Linked DNA regions of Homo sapiens: all the other regions are linked to region 1. The links are contacts of gene promoters, found by promoter capture Hi-C in blood cells and fetal thymus (Javierre and others, 2016). All regions are on one chromosome and are shown on one strand. The core of a region is centred on a gene start or on the middle of the fragment in contact, and the rest is flanking DNA. Distances in the headings are between cores, read along the strand shown. Region 1 holds the start of MMP15 (matrix metallopeptidase 15). Region 2 overlaps KATNB1 (katanin regulatory subunit B1). Region 3 holds the start of ADGRG1 (adhesion G protein-coupled receptor G1).

Region 1 (4,613 bases), core at 1,309-3,808:
TCCAGGACAGTCACAACCTCCAGATCAGGAGCACGGTTTGTGATAACGCAACCATGGCTTCTTCCCTGGCGGCATCGAGCTGTGGGCACTCCCTGAGCTGGGGAGTTGGGGTAGGGGTGAGATGGAACTGGAAAAGCAGAAGAGAGAGAGAGTGAAGCCCCTCCAACTACAGGTCCCTGCACCCCTGAGCTCCTGGCCAGCTAGGATGCCATTAGCAATGCACGGCCATTGAATTCCATCACTGCTTCCTATGTATTGACGCCATCCCTAAGTAGATTAGAAACTCAATGGTGGGACTGTGACTTGAAATTCTTTGGCACTCCAGCCCAGAGTGGCAGGTGGGCCCAAATGGCACTCTCCGCCCAGTACTTGGGTCACAGGCTGAGGGGTAATCCTCACCAACAGGAGCCCCCTAAAGCTCCTCCTGCCTGTGTGAATGGGGTGGGGGAGGGTGGCCAGACTGGGTCGGGGCGGGGCTCCTATCCTGCCTCCCACCAGGGCCTGGCTCCTCCTTCAGCTCTCCCTGGCCAGGCCAGGGAGGGAGGGCAGAGCAGGTGGGGAAATGGCTGGGAGGTGTAACTCGAGCCCAGGAGGAATTCCCTGCCCTTCCTCTATGCTTTTATTAAAGTAGGGCGGGGAAGGGCAAGCTTCCATCGGAAAAATCTCCCAGGCAGCCCGGAGAGGTGGGAAAGCCGCCGTGGGCCAGGGAGGGAGCACCAGCTGAGCTGCAAATAGAAACGGCGCTCAGGCCCGCAGCCCGGGCAGCCCAAGGGCACCAAGGCCTGAGCACCGTTCAGAAGCGGCTCCGGGGTGGTTCTTTCTCCCTACTCCCCGCCCAAGTCCTCTCCCCGCCTATCTGGGGCAGGGCGCAGGTCTTAGAAGTCGGGGAAGAGTGGACCCTGCTCTTGCTCTGGGGCAAGAAAGCTGGCGCCTTCGGTGTCCTCGCTCGGGAGACACCATGGAGCTGGGGCGCTGGCTGGACTCGGCTCTACGCCGGGATGTCGCGCCTGGTCACCCGCGGGACCCATCCAGAGCGGGGCCCCGGGAGGGACGCCAAGCGGGCTCCTAGCGAAGAGAGGCGCGGGGTCCACCCTCTCGAATCCAGGGCTTCGACGTAGGGGCGCTGTTGGGAGGAAGCGCTGTGGGAGGCAGGGTCCGTCCTTAGGACCCCGCCCGGGCGTGCCTAGGCTTCCTCGCAAAAGCGCAGAAAGTCGCCAAAGCGCCCCCGCAACCCGAGTCCGCTGCCTCAGCCGTTTGCACCCATCCCCCCGCCTCCATCCTGGCCCGCCGTGCGCGGCTCGGTATCACCCAGACGGGAGGCCACCTGGGCAGGAGCGCAGTTGCCCAGCCGCCCAGCTCTTGCTCCGCCTGTGGCTGTCCCCGAGAGCAGCCCCCTCCCCACTCGCAAAGAGCGCCACTGCGCGCCAGCCGGGCTCTCGAGGAATCGGCTGCCCTGGAGGGAAGGAAGGAGGGGAGGCAAGGGCTGGGGGCGGCGGAAGCGGCTCCCGGGACACAGGCTGAATGTAAGGGGGTCGGGGTGGGGGCTCAGTGCCCAGAACAGGGCTGTAGGAGTAGCGGGGAGGAGAGCGAGGCCCTGCGCCCTCAAGGGTTTGCGAAGAGGTGCGCTGCAGAGGGCGAGCTGGGGAGGGGCAGACTGCCAAGTCCGCTTGCTTCCCCGCCACGGCCCAGAACAGGGGGCGCGTCTCCGCTCCCTCCACCTCCAAGTCCCAGCCTGCGGACGTGGCGCCTCTCCCTCCAAGCCCCCAGCCCGCAGCCAAAGGGCAGGGCGGGGGTCTTACCTCGGCATGGACCTCCGCGTCTTCGGCCGCTACGCCAAGGCCCAGGCAGCCCAGAAGCACCAGGAGCAGCGGCAGCAGTCGCGGCCGCGCCGCCTCCTCCCGGTCGCCGAGGAGGCTGCCCGTCCAGCCCGGCCGTCCGGGCGCGCTCGGGTCGCTGCCCATGCTCTCGGCGCCCAGCCCAGCTCGGAACACTGCACGCCGGATCCTCGCACGCGCCTTGGAAACTTGCGACGCTCCCTGGCTCCTGGCCCGGCAGGCGCGCCGCGGACCTCGGGCTCCCGGTCCCCGCCGGAGCCGCCTAGGTCGCCTCGGCAAATTCCCAAGCCCGAGGAGAAGCGGGCAGGGCAGGTCCGGGAGCTCGGAACCAGCCGGCGGGAAAGGGGGCCGACCGGAGCTGCCCCCGGCGAGGTTCCGCAGCCTCGGCGCCCAGCGCCTGGGGCCCGGCTCCCGAGAGCAAGCGCAACTCCGGAGCCTTTGTCTGGCTCAGCGCTCCGGCCGCCCGGTCCCGCGGCGCTCCCTGCGCGCCCAGCTCCCTCTGTCCATGCCCGGGGCCGGGCGCTGCCCGGAGCGCGCGCCTCCTGCACGGGGATTCTGCTCGCCGCCGCGCCCGACCGGGCCCGGGTCCCCAAGCAGTCCCGGGAGGAGGCGCAGGGAGCCGACCCGAGAGAGCGAGCGAGAGAGCAAGCGAGCCAGCCAAGGAGCGGGCGCCCGACGTCCCCGGCGAGTTCAGCGCGGCTCCGGGCGCTCCCAGCCCTCCTCCCCGCGCGCCGCGGCCGCCGCGCTCTTAAAGGGCCAGTGTGCTCCCAATGCGCGGACCCGGGCGGGGACCGGGGGCGGTGCCCCAGCCGCAGGCTTCTCACAAGCAGGTGCGGGCGGCCGAGGCCCGACAGGTGGGCGGTCCGTTTACGCTTCCCAGACGGCAGGAAACCTCTCCAGCCCACCCCGCGTCACTCCCAACCCAGCGCCTAGGGGGCGGGGGTGACCTCCAACGCGACCCCCCGCGGAGGGAGGAGGCAGGGAAGGCGTGGTCTCCCCGCCTGGGAAGAATGAAGACTCCTCCTTCTCATACCTGGTGGGGGATACCGAGGCCTAGGCGGACGGGAAGGAGGTCTTAGGGGAGGGATCAAAGAGTCGTTTTAGGCTTAAATATAAATATATATGTATATATGGATATTTGTCAGCCTGAAACCTCTTTTCAAAAGCCGCAGGGTGTCTCTGGCCATTGAATAACTTTCCTCAGTAGCAAAGTGAGGGTTTTGTGCGCGTCGAGGGCGCGTTGCGGCGGACAAGGGGCAGGTTTAGGAGGGACACGGTTCAAGTTCCGCGTCCGCCCCTTAGCTGCCGCTTGCACGTGGGCAAATTAATCTCTCCGAGCCTCCATGTTCTTATCGGGAACGTGGGGCAAAGAGTTGGGGTGAGGGCGAGGTAAGACTTCCGGCTCCTGGCCTGGCGCAATAGGTGCCCAAGCACTTTGGCCACTGGCTGGTGCGAGTGAAGTGCGACAGTGCGGCCGGAGTCGGCGCGGGGCGGGTGGACACACCTCCCCGCGAAGCTTAACGAGCTGGATTTCATTCTATTCCGGAAGCAGCTTGAGGTCGGGGCGGGGTGGATGCAGGAGGCCAGAGCTGGGAGGCCCGGGTCGAAGGTCCACCGAGACCCGGGGACCAGGCCAAGGGCAGCCCTGGCGCGGCGGACTGGCCGGCGTGGTCAGTGGGTGAGGGTTGCAGGCAGGAGGGCGGAGACCGAAGATAAGCTGTTCCTTATCTTCAGACCCGGAAATGGAAGCCGTCCTCACCTGAGGGCGGTTTTCTCTAGAGCAGGCCCTCGGGGCACCCTAGCCGGCCTCACCTCCCGGAAACTGGAAATCAGGAGACCTGGCAGAGTGCCTTAGAGAGGGCGCGTTTGAACCCTCCTGGGATGTCCTTGGGGAAAGGAAGTCGGAGTTTAGAGAAAGGAACCGGGCGATTCTATCATTTCCACGGACTCACTTCTCTGTGGGATCCTTCATCTGGGAAGTTGGTTTCTAAATTCTCCACTTCGAAATTTGCTTTTGGGAAATGTGCAGTGGTCTTCAGACACGGACAACGGGGTTGTCCTTGTTTAACCGACCACGTCGCACTCTTTCATGATATTTAGTCCCGATTAGCCAATTTTAAAAAGTTTGGGGCTAGGTAAAGTGGCTCAAGCCTGTAATCCCAGCACTTTGGGAGACCGAAGTGGGAGGATTGCTTTAGCCCAGGAGTTCAAGACCAGCCTGGGCAACATGACAAGACCCCATCTGTACAAAGAATACAAAAATTAGCCAGGTGTGGTGGTGTACGTCTGTAGGCCCAGCTACTTGGGAGGCTGAGTTGGGAGGATCACTTGAACCCAGGAGGTTGAGGATGCAGTGAGCTATGATCATGCCGCTGCCCTTCAACCCGGCTGTCAGAGCGAGACACTGTCTCAGAAAAAAAGAAAAAAAAAGTTGGGGTTTAAGGGGCTAGCTGTTAGTGAGAGGAGCCCAGGAATGAGTGGAGCAACGTTCTTTGAGGCCTGGGTCGGTCAAGTCTGGTGATTTTCTCTCTGTTGGAGGTTCCTCTCTTGGGGTCCAATCCTGCCTTAAGGAAATGACATCCCCTGTGACCAGATCTTGAAGCTCCCAATTATTGGTTCTGGCTCCTATAGGTACTTTGGGAGTCCAAGGTGGATTTGCATCTACATCCAACCCAAGATAGCTGGGTTTCTACTGGGTCTGGACAGCACCCAAAGCCCGAAAGGACTAGTCAGTGGGACTGAGATGTGTGAACTGCAGCCCTTCCATCAAGTAGCTTT
Region 2 (4,218 bases), core at 1,296-3,795, 270 kb after region 1:
CTCCCCAGGGTAATAGTCACCAGGCTGCCCTTACCTGGATGGGCTTTCTCTTTTCTTTCCTTTTTAAAAAGTTCTTACACCTTCTCCAGAACCTGTTTTACAACCTCCCCTGCCCCCAGGCAGTAGTCAGGGCAGACAGTGCTGTGTCCGTTCTGCAGGTGGGAAATGGAAGGTCTGTGGGAAGGGGGCAGTGTAAGGAGACCCCAGCCTCTCAGCCGGGGGTGCTGACTCTACCCTGGGACCCTGCTCTCTGAGCATGGGCTGGCTGAGCCTGTGCAGTAAGCCCCCTCCAGAGCAGCCCCTGCAGCCCCCTCCCTGTGCCTCAGCTGCCCCGGGGGTAGAAAGGGCCGGGCTTGCCTACCTCCTAGGTGAGGAGTGAGCCCCGCCACAGGACCGGGACCCAGGGCTCCAGCCCCTGTTTAGCCCAGATCATGGGAGGGCCTGGCCCATCCTTGAGTCCAAAGGGGTAGCAGCAGCAGGGTCTTGTGGGGTACTGGCCCAAGGCAAGCCCACCAGTGAGACGCCTGTCACTTTGATTTCAGCCTGACGGCTGGGGCTGCAGAGTCTCTAGGTGAGTGTGGGGCCTGTGGCCCAGGGCTGCCCGCCTGCCTGCCCGCAGTGGGTTGCAGGGCTGCGCTGGGACGTTCTGCTGTTCAGAGCTGGGTCTAGCCCCTGCTGTCGCTTGTCTATGTGCTTTTGCTGGGTTCCCTCCTGCTCTCGGTGGCAACTGCTGTGGGCTGCCGGTGGGCAAGTGGACAAGAGGCTGATGATCTCATGCCCCTGCAGGGAAGTCGCGGCCACTGCCTGTGTGACGGATGTGACCCCGCTGGGCCTGAAGCTGGGCCCTCACTGGCCTGTCCCTGCTGCAGCGCCAGGACCCCCGGAGGTAGAGGCGAGAGTGGAGGCTCTTCTTCTGCCCCGTCTCCCCTCAAAGATGAGAAACATGTTCAGAAGGAAACGGTGTCTCTCGGCTGTGGCTCTGAGTGCAAATTGCATGGGCGGAAAGGCGGGGGTGGCTGCTCTTCCTGGCAGGCCTGGGCCATCAGCGAACTGGGCCCCGTGAGGAGGGCGGGAGTGTGGAGGAGGGTGGGCCTCTCACCCAGGCTTTCTCGGCCCCTCTCCTCAGCTTGCAGAGCTGGCCAGCCCCCTCCTTAGGGGGTGGGCGAGGAGCCTCTGGGCAGACCCAAGAACCATGGGGACTGGGGTGGGTTGGTGGCACCAATGGCAGCCCTCCCCGCCCCTCTCCTTCAAGGAGGGTTCCCGCAGCTGGGGGGTGTGCGGAGGCGCATGGCCTCCCGCCACGGGGCCGTGCTGTGTTTATGGCTGGCAGAGGCAGCCAGCGGGTGGGGGATTCTGCTGCTCGCTCACCTGCCTGGCTCGCTGGTCTCTCGAATTTTCTTCCCTCTGAAATCCTATTTAAGAACTTTTGGAAGCTTAGCCATTTTTACTTATTAAAATAAAAGAAGCCTTTTTACACAAGTATGGTCTGAAAAAGTTGGTCTGTGAGCCCCTCTTGGTCTGATTAGGGGGACGGGGCACTGGCAGGTCTTGTGGACTCCCCCGCTGGCTGGTCACCCCACAGCCCTCTGGGATCTGTCCTCTAGGTCAGTTAGGGACATGCGTCCTTAACAAACAACTGGGGGGAGCCTGCGCTGTCCCACCCTGGGTCACTTTCTCTGTTGTTTGTGGTCACAGTCGCCTCATGCGGTACCTACCATGTGCCCACGATAACTGACCTCCCAACAGGGGCATTCCTCCATGTTACTGATGGGAAGGAAACTAAGGCTGGAGAGAGCTTCAAAGGCTATCAAAGCCTTGCCCAAACCATGCTGGGCTTCCAGGTTACTGCTGGGCACCACCCACTGCCCACTCTTTGCCCTGGCCTTTTCCCTCTTCAGTGAACTGGCCAGAGGTCCACGCCACCTTCCTCCAGTGCCGAGGACCCTGACCACCCCGGGGCGGGGCTGTACCTGGTCCCTGCCTTGGGAGCAGGAGGGGGCCCACCTGTCGCAGTGCCCACGGAGCAGGGAGCCCTTTCCCGCCAGCCAGTGCTGGGGACTCCAGCAGGGAGTGACAGCTGATCGGAGCCCTGCTCAGAGGAAGGGGCAGGTGCCCTTCTAGTCCTGCCCCTGGAGGCATCCTGGGGGTGTCCATAAGACAGCTTGAGTGTAGCTGAGGTGGGGAGGAACGGGCTGGTGGGGGCCACCCCTAACCTCAACACCCAGTGGTGGAAGGGTGGTTGCCGCCTCCCCTTCCTTCCCAGTCTGCACTGGCTGAACTGGTGCTGTCCCAGAGGCCTGATTCTCTGCTGCCCCCTGCTGGCCACATGGCCCAGAGCCCCACCCCCGGGCTTGGAGGGGGTGTGGCCTCATCTCAAACCATGGGGCAGGCACTCCTGGGCCCGGGGAGCCCTGTGGCCAGCAGAAAACATTCCCCACAAGGAAACCTGGGAATAGTTACAAATTTAATAAAATTTGCCTTATAAATTACAGCAGCAGCCCCAGGGCTCAGTTCGCTGCCCCAAGAAGCAACAGTTGGGCAAAGCTGGGCAGCTATTGCTGGAGAGAGTTGTCTCAAGAGTTCAGGGCTGTAGAGGTGGCCAGGGACCAGCATCACCTCCTCCAGGACGGCCACAGGACAGCAGCAGGGGCCAGGCAGAGGCTCATGGGCCAGTGGGTGCACAAGGAACAGGAGTGGGGGCTGAGGCCAGGCCCTGTGGGCTGCCGAGCGCCCCTGCCCACTGCTTTCCTCAGTCCAGACTGGCCATGAGCAGGTGCAGCTCGCGGAAGGTACTGCCATGGCGGCCGCTCAGGCCTGACTTGCTCTTGACCAGGCCGCTGATGCTCTTAAGCTGCTTGTAGCAGAGCCGGCACTTATGCAGCCTGTAGAGAGGGCAGTGCCTGAGGGGCTAGCTGGCACCACCACCACCCACACCCAACCCCAGGGCCTTTGCTGTCCTAACTGCTCCAGCCCTTCCTCCCAAGGGAAGGCGGAGGCCCAGAGGGGAACCACCCAGGCCCTGCCAGGGATTGTGGGCACAGCCAGGCCATGGAGGAACCCAGCTCTGGCTAAGCCCACCCACACCCTGAGCCATGGCCCCAGACCAACGCCTCCTCTGTACTCTGTCCCAGCAGGACTGTCAGTAAGAGGGGCCCAGGCCTCCAGGCCTTTGTCCCCTCACCTGTTGTGGCACCCCTGCCCCCAACACATGCGCTGCCCTCACCTCTCCTCCCTGCTGATATCCACACCCACAGAGGGTGGGGCCGCCAGCATGTCTGTGATGAGGGGCAGAAACCGCTGCAGGATCAGCTTCAGGGAGGTGCAGCCCGTCTGGACGTAGCTTTAGGGGGAGATGGATGAAGTCACAGATGGACCAAGGGCCACAGACAGAAAGAGAAACAGCAAGGAACAAAGGAGGAGAGGGGCAGAAACAGACACAGACACACCCACACATACACCCACACACGCCTGTTTCCACTCCCACCTCCGGACTGTTGAGGGGCAGCAATGCTTCACAGCCAGCTCACAGGAACACCCAGGCTCTTGGGGGTCCTTCCCATGGTTCTGGAGGAGGCTTCTTACCTCTCCCCTCCCCCTGCTTCAGGCAGGCATGGCTTCCCCACACGCACCTCTCATACTTGCTCTGCAGAAGCTTCTCAATCTGTGGCAGGACGGTGGTGCACAGGTCCAGCTTCCACAGGGAGCTAGGAGAGGCCAGGACATGCTGCCATCAGCCCAGCCCTGCCCCTCCGCCCACTCCCCCTCTGCAGCCACTTACGCTTTCTGGTTGACGATGTTCAGGAGGTCCACCACCACCGACAGGTCGTTGATGGCCACAGCGGAGTCCACCGACGTCTGTGCAAACAGAGCACCGTCAGGGGTGGGGCAGTGGGGGACAGTGTGGCCCTGTGAGGGTGAGGGTGGGGGTACGAACGTGAATGTGGGTGTGCTGATGGGGCTGTGGGTATTCAGCACTGCACCTAACGCAATGAGTGTAAGGCCAGGCATGTAAACAGATGCTCACTAAACGGCAGTCTGTGATGATGATGATGATGGCGGAAACAGATGGTGTGACGTCAGGGATGGCCTATCCCACACTGTCCCCCATGGGTGGCCTCTTCTTGTTCTGCCCCAAGCCCGGGCAGGCAGGTGGCAGGGGCAGGGGGGCGAGATGAGGCCCTGTGCAAGGGTGGGCACTTGCCTTGATGTCGCCCATGG
Region 3 (4,243 bases), core at 1-2,500, 400 kb after region 1:
CCCAACTCTACCACGCAGGGGAGGTGGGTTGGGGACGGGGGAGGACAGGAATCATTGGTTTCCTACACACTCCCAGCCCCCGCGGGGACCAGGGTGGGAAGTCCTATCAGTGCCAGGCAGATGGAGCCCTGAGGTCTGGTGGCAACGGGCAGGGTGTTCAGCCCGCAGCCTGCGCTTCCCCGTCTGCCTGTCACCGGTTCCAGGACTCTCACCCACGTGGCCCACGTTCAGAGACCCTGCGGGGCCACCTTCTCCCAAAGCTGGCCTTGGTGATGAAGAGCACGGCTGTCCCTTGCTCAGTGGGGACCCCGGACCCAGCCCCAGGGACAGCTGCAGGAAAGCTGTCCTCAGGAGTTCCCTCAAGTGCCACCCCCTCCCTGAGCCTGGCCCCTGGCTTTCTATACCTGGATGTGCTAGGTGACCTTGGGCAAGCCACCTGCCCTCCCAGAGCCTCGGTTCTCCCATCTGTGTAGTAGGAGCACTGATCTCACAGCCTAAAGAGCAGACCCCAGCTTGCTGGGCCCAGTGACTGTACCACTCTGAGCCTCAGTTTCTCCAGCAACAAAATGCCTGGGAGCCCCGGGAGGTGTCGCTCCCCTTGGGCCCCAGTCCCCTCCCAGGCATCTCCTTGTGGGTCCGCCCCCACTCTAGAGACCCACCCACAGCCATGCTGACCTGGACTAGATCCCACCAAGATACCAAGACCCCCCCATTTCCCCATTTCACCACCATCCCTACCCACTGTCCAACAGCCACCCGTGCACGGATGCACACATCCACACTTACACTCACATACACTCCCACACTCACACTCACACTCATACTCACACACACTCACTCACACTCTCACACTCAAACGCTCAGTCACACTCTCACACTCACACTCACATTCTCACTCACTCTCACACACTCACACTCACACACTCTCACACTCTCACGCTCACACTCACACTCACACTCACTCTCACACACTCACACTCACACACTCACACTCTCACACACTCACGCTCACACACTCACACTCTCACACTCACACTATTCCCCTTCCCACCTGCTGTCCAGCCCTTGTTTGGGTACCTGCTGCCAGGTGGAGGGTCCCACGCAGGGCCAGGCGGCTGGACCACCTTTCAGGATCCACCCCCAGAGGCTTAACCTGCCAGCCCTGGTCCCCGCTGCCTGCCGAGTGAGCTGGAGAGCGTGGGAGGCTCCCAGCCCATCTCCTACGGCAGGGCAGGGCAGACAGCTAGTGCGGAGAGGGAGGGACCGGGTTTGTTTGGTGGGGAGACACCCCTCTCCTGCCCCAGCTGGGCTCCTCCCTCCTCCCTGAGCTTGACTGGGGATGACGGACGATATATGTGAGTCATGGATTTCTCAGAGGGAGACCAGGAGGGGGCAGGGCTGAGAGCGCTGAGGCAGTGATCCTGGGGGATGCCCATGACTCAGCGCCGGGCAAGGGGGCACCTCAGCCTCACCCCTCATCCAGGCAGACAGTGTTCAGGGACAGGAAGGGGCCGGGGATCACTCTGCTTCCTCAGCCTCCATCTGTCGCCTCCCAGGGCCAGTCTCCCCAAAGTTCCCACAGAGAGGCCGGGGTTGCCACGGCAACAGGGCCCTTGGATGCTGTCCGCCCACCCCCCAGGTCAGGGCGACAACTGCCCTTTCCTGAAGGAGAGTCCAGCCTCCTTGGCAGCCGACGGGAGCCAGTGCTGACCGGCAGAGCGGAAGGCAGTCGGGAGGGAGCGGGTGACAGGCAGCCGGGCAGGAGGCCAGCCAGGCCACGCACGACTGACCGGCTGACCTGCGTCCCCCCGGGGGGTGACCCGTCTCCCCTCTCAGTGCTCCTCAAGCACCCACAGTTTCAACATCCCAAGTCATTTTGGATTCTGAGACCCCAGGGGCTTCTGGAAACGGCCTCCTTTAATCCATCTGCTGAGCCAAAGGGGAAACCGAGGCCTGGGTGAAGAGCCATTCCCAGTGGCCCCAAAAGCTCAGACAGAGAAGTGTGGAAATGGACCATGCCCCATCCCCCTTCTGGTCATTCCTCTGTCAGCAGCACCTCCCGCTGCTGGGGTTCAGTGCCCTTCTCGAGTCAGGAGGCTTTGGATAACTCACACTCCCTGCAGAGGCTCCTGTCTGCCCTCCTCCTCCGAGCAATGAGGATAGATGATTCCTCAGTCAGATGTGCTGGGAGGCTTTTACAATGCCAGAAGGGTGAGTGGTGACAATAACAGTAATTACACTCGCTGACCACCGTCTGCATTCCAGCTCCAGAGCGCCCCTGGCAGTGGAGAGAAGTCAAACCTGCTACTCAGACCAGTGCCTGGTACTTGCCAAGCCCTCAATAAATACTCCCTGTGAATGTGGTGATGAAGAAGAGGGAGCTTAAGGCAGATACATGTAGCTCAGAGATGAGAATTAACCTGCCCAAGATCACACAGCAGGGAGGTGCCCGAGTTGGGATGGCGGGAGCACAGGCCGTCTGGCTCCATAGCGGGTCTCCTAACCACTCAGCAATCCAGCACCCCAGGCCTCAGCCTGGGGCCTGGACACGTGGATGCTTGGGGAACTTGAGATTCCTTCTCTCCGGTAGAGATCTGCCTTCTAAACAAGGGGGCCAGGAAAAGCTTCCCCATGCCACGTGGAGGAAGAATGAATGGAACGTCTCGGGCAGCCTAGGAGCCAGGGCTGCTGCAGGTGAACTGCACTCCTCACCTACCTGCTTGAAATCAAGCTGCAGAAAGGAAGGGCCACAAAGCCACCCCGTGGGGTGCAGGGAGGCCATAAGGTGAGAGCTTCCAGAAAACGGCACTGTGCTTCCCACATTCACAGTCCCCAGTCCAGGCTGTGGGCCAATACCTGGGGCAGGGAGGCACAGTGGGGACTGGGCCCATGTCATACCCTCTGCTCTCTCCCGGGGCTGCAGTGGGAACTCCCTTATTGCCAAAGCAGCAGAGGCCAGCCTACACTGGGGGCCCACTAACAAGGGAGGACAAGTGAGTTATCTAGGGGAGGATGGGTTGTCCCTGACATACCACCACCTCTGCCTCAGTTTCCCCAAGGTCAGTCCTTCAGGGCCTGATCAACTGGTAACCCGGGCAGCCTCAGCTGTTCCCCAGGGACCAGGCCCACAGGGCAGCTGTCCCCCCACCACCACCACCACACACACACCCCACAGAGCGTGCTGACCAGAAGGGCACAGATGGAGAGTTGAAGGCACCACTCTCTCTGCAGATGGCTGAAGAGAGTGCGGAGCCAGCTGCCACTCTGGCCACATAGGAGAGGCTTATGGGGCTGCCTGGCTGGGCGGAGTTGGCTGCCCAGCTCTGCCTGCCTCTCTCACCGTCGGACTTTGCAGAGACCTACTATGAGCTAGGGGCAGGCAGGTGAGGAAGCAGGCCCCCAGCTCTGAGTCTGGCTAGAGAGACAAGCCTGGTTCTCATAGTAGCGATACCTGGAGTTGGTATTCAGCATCCAGGGGTCTCTGGGAGTAAAGGGGGAGAAATTCAATGACTTGTTAAACACAACACTATCTGTTATGAGTGCTGATAACAGGACTAATAATCACCTGCTATGTCTGGAGGTTTTATGGTGTAAGATGCTCTGCTTGTACAGATCATTCTCATTTTATCCACACAACCCTGTGGGTTGGGTACCACTTGTATGTTAGAGATGGTCAGAGACATGAAGTAACTTAGCCAAGGTCGCACAGCTTGGACCTGGCTGGGCCTCCAGGTGTGTGGGCTGTAACCAAACACGGGACACCAGATATCCGGCCCCTGCTAGGCACTTCATCTTCTCCTTCTGTTCTCACAACAGTCTATCCCCACTTTACAGAAGGGGAACCGAGGTACAGGGAGGGCTACCCACGCCTTTCTATAACAGCCAGGATCTGAACTAAGCGTGTAGACCCCAGAGCCCCTGCTGGGACCTGAAGGAGAAGAAGGGGGCTTCGATAAACAGAGACCAGCAGGAAGGGCACCCCAGGCAGAGGGAACAGCATTGGCTGAGGTGGAGAGGTAGGGCATGGAGCCATGCTTGGAAGGAAGTGGGATCTAACTGGGCAGCAAGGGGCAGATTCTGGAAGATTTTGAAAGTGTAGAGTTTGGGCTTAAATCAAAGGTACTGGGGAGCCAGAGAAGATGTTTGGGTAGGGAGAGGCCTGATTAGCCCTCAAAATGTGGTCTTCAGACCTACAGATAGCCTGAGACCTGCTGAATCTGAATGTGTATTTTAATAAGATGCC

The links. Contacts are between HindIII fragments. The CHiCAGO score rates a contact against its expected background, and 5 or more counts as called.
Region 2: a contact is called between a fragment that was not itself captured here and the fragment with the promoter of MMP15 in region 1, in 2 of 17 cell types (activated CD4 T cells and non-activated CD4 T cells). The highest score is 5.2, in activated CD4 T cells.
Region 3: the fragment with the promoter of ADGRG1 here is called in contact with the fragment with the promoter of MMP15 in region 1 in 3 of 17 cell types (M1 macrophages, erythroblasts and neutrophils); the score reaches 7.1 in M1 macrophages.

Annotation. Positions count from the first base shown.
Region 1 is chr16:58,023,699-58,028,311 of GRCh38, reverse strand. MMP15 (matrix metallopeptidase 15) reads right to left here and starts at 2,558. Exons shown (of 10, transcript NM_002428.4): 1 at 1,800-2,558. The coding sequence starts at 1,961. RefSeq lists enhancers at 894-1,443, 1,994-2,543, 2,776-3,361, 3,362-3,949 and a silencer at 2,410-2,549. The HindIII fragment of the contact is 2,704 bases long and covers 650-3,353 here.
Region 2 is chr16:57,755,478-57,759,695 of GRCh38, reverse strand. It overlaps KATNB1 (katanin regulatory subunit B1), which reads right to left. Exons shown (of 20, transcript NM_005886.3): 16 at 4,202-4,218; 17 at 3,779-3,855; 18 at 3,630-3,704; 19 at 3,224-3,340; 20 at 2,452-2,882. The coding sequence ends at 2,750. It overlaps KIFC3 (kinesin family member C3), which reads left to right. Exons shown (of 20, transcript NM_001130100.2): 19 at 543-571; 20 at 787-1,479. The coding sequence ends at 547. Among named protein-coding and RNA genes, the nearest start is that of MIR6772, 15 kb to the left of the region's middle. RefSeq lists a silencer at 2,237-2,386 and enhancers at 2,185-2,479, 2,068-2,707. The HindIII fragment of the contact is 2,219 bases long and covers 1,436-3,654 here.
Region 3 is chr16:57,625,637-57,629,879 of GRCh38, reverse strand. It overlaps ADGRG1 (adhesion G protein-coupled receptor G1), which reads right to left and starts at 1,250. Exons shown (of 14, transcript NM_201525.4): 1 at 1,078-1,250. RefSeq lists a silencer at 1,139-1,208 and enhancers at 758-1,413, 1,414-2,069. The HindIII fragment of the contact is 3,448 bases long and covers 1-2,626 here.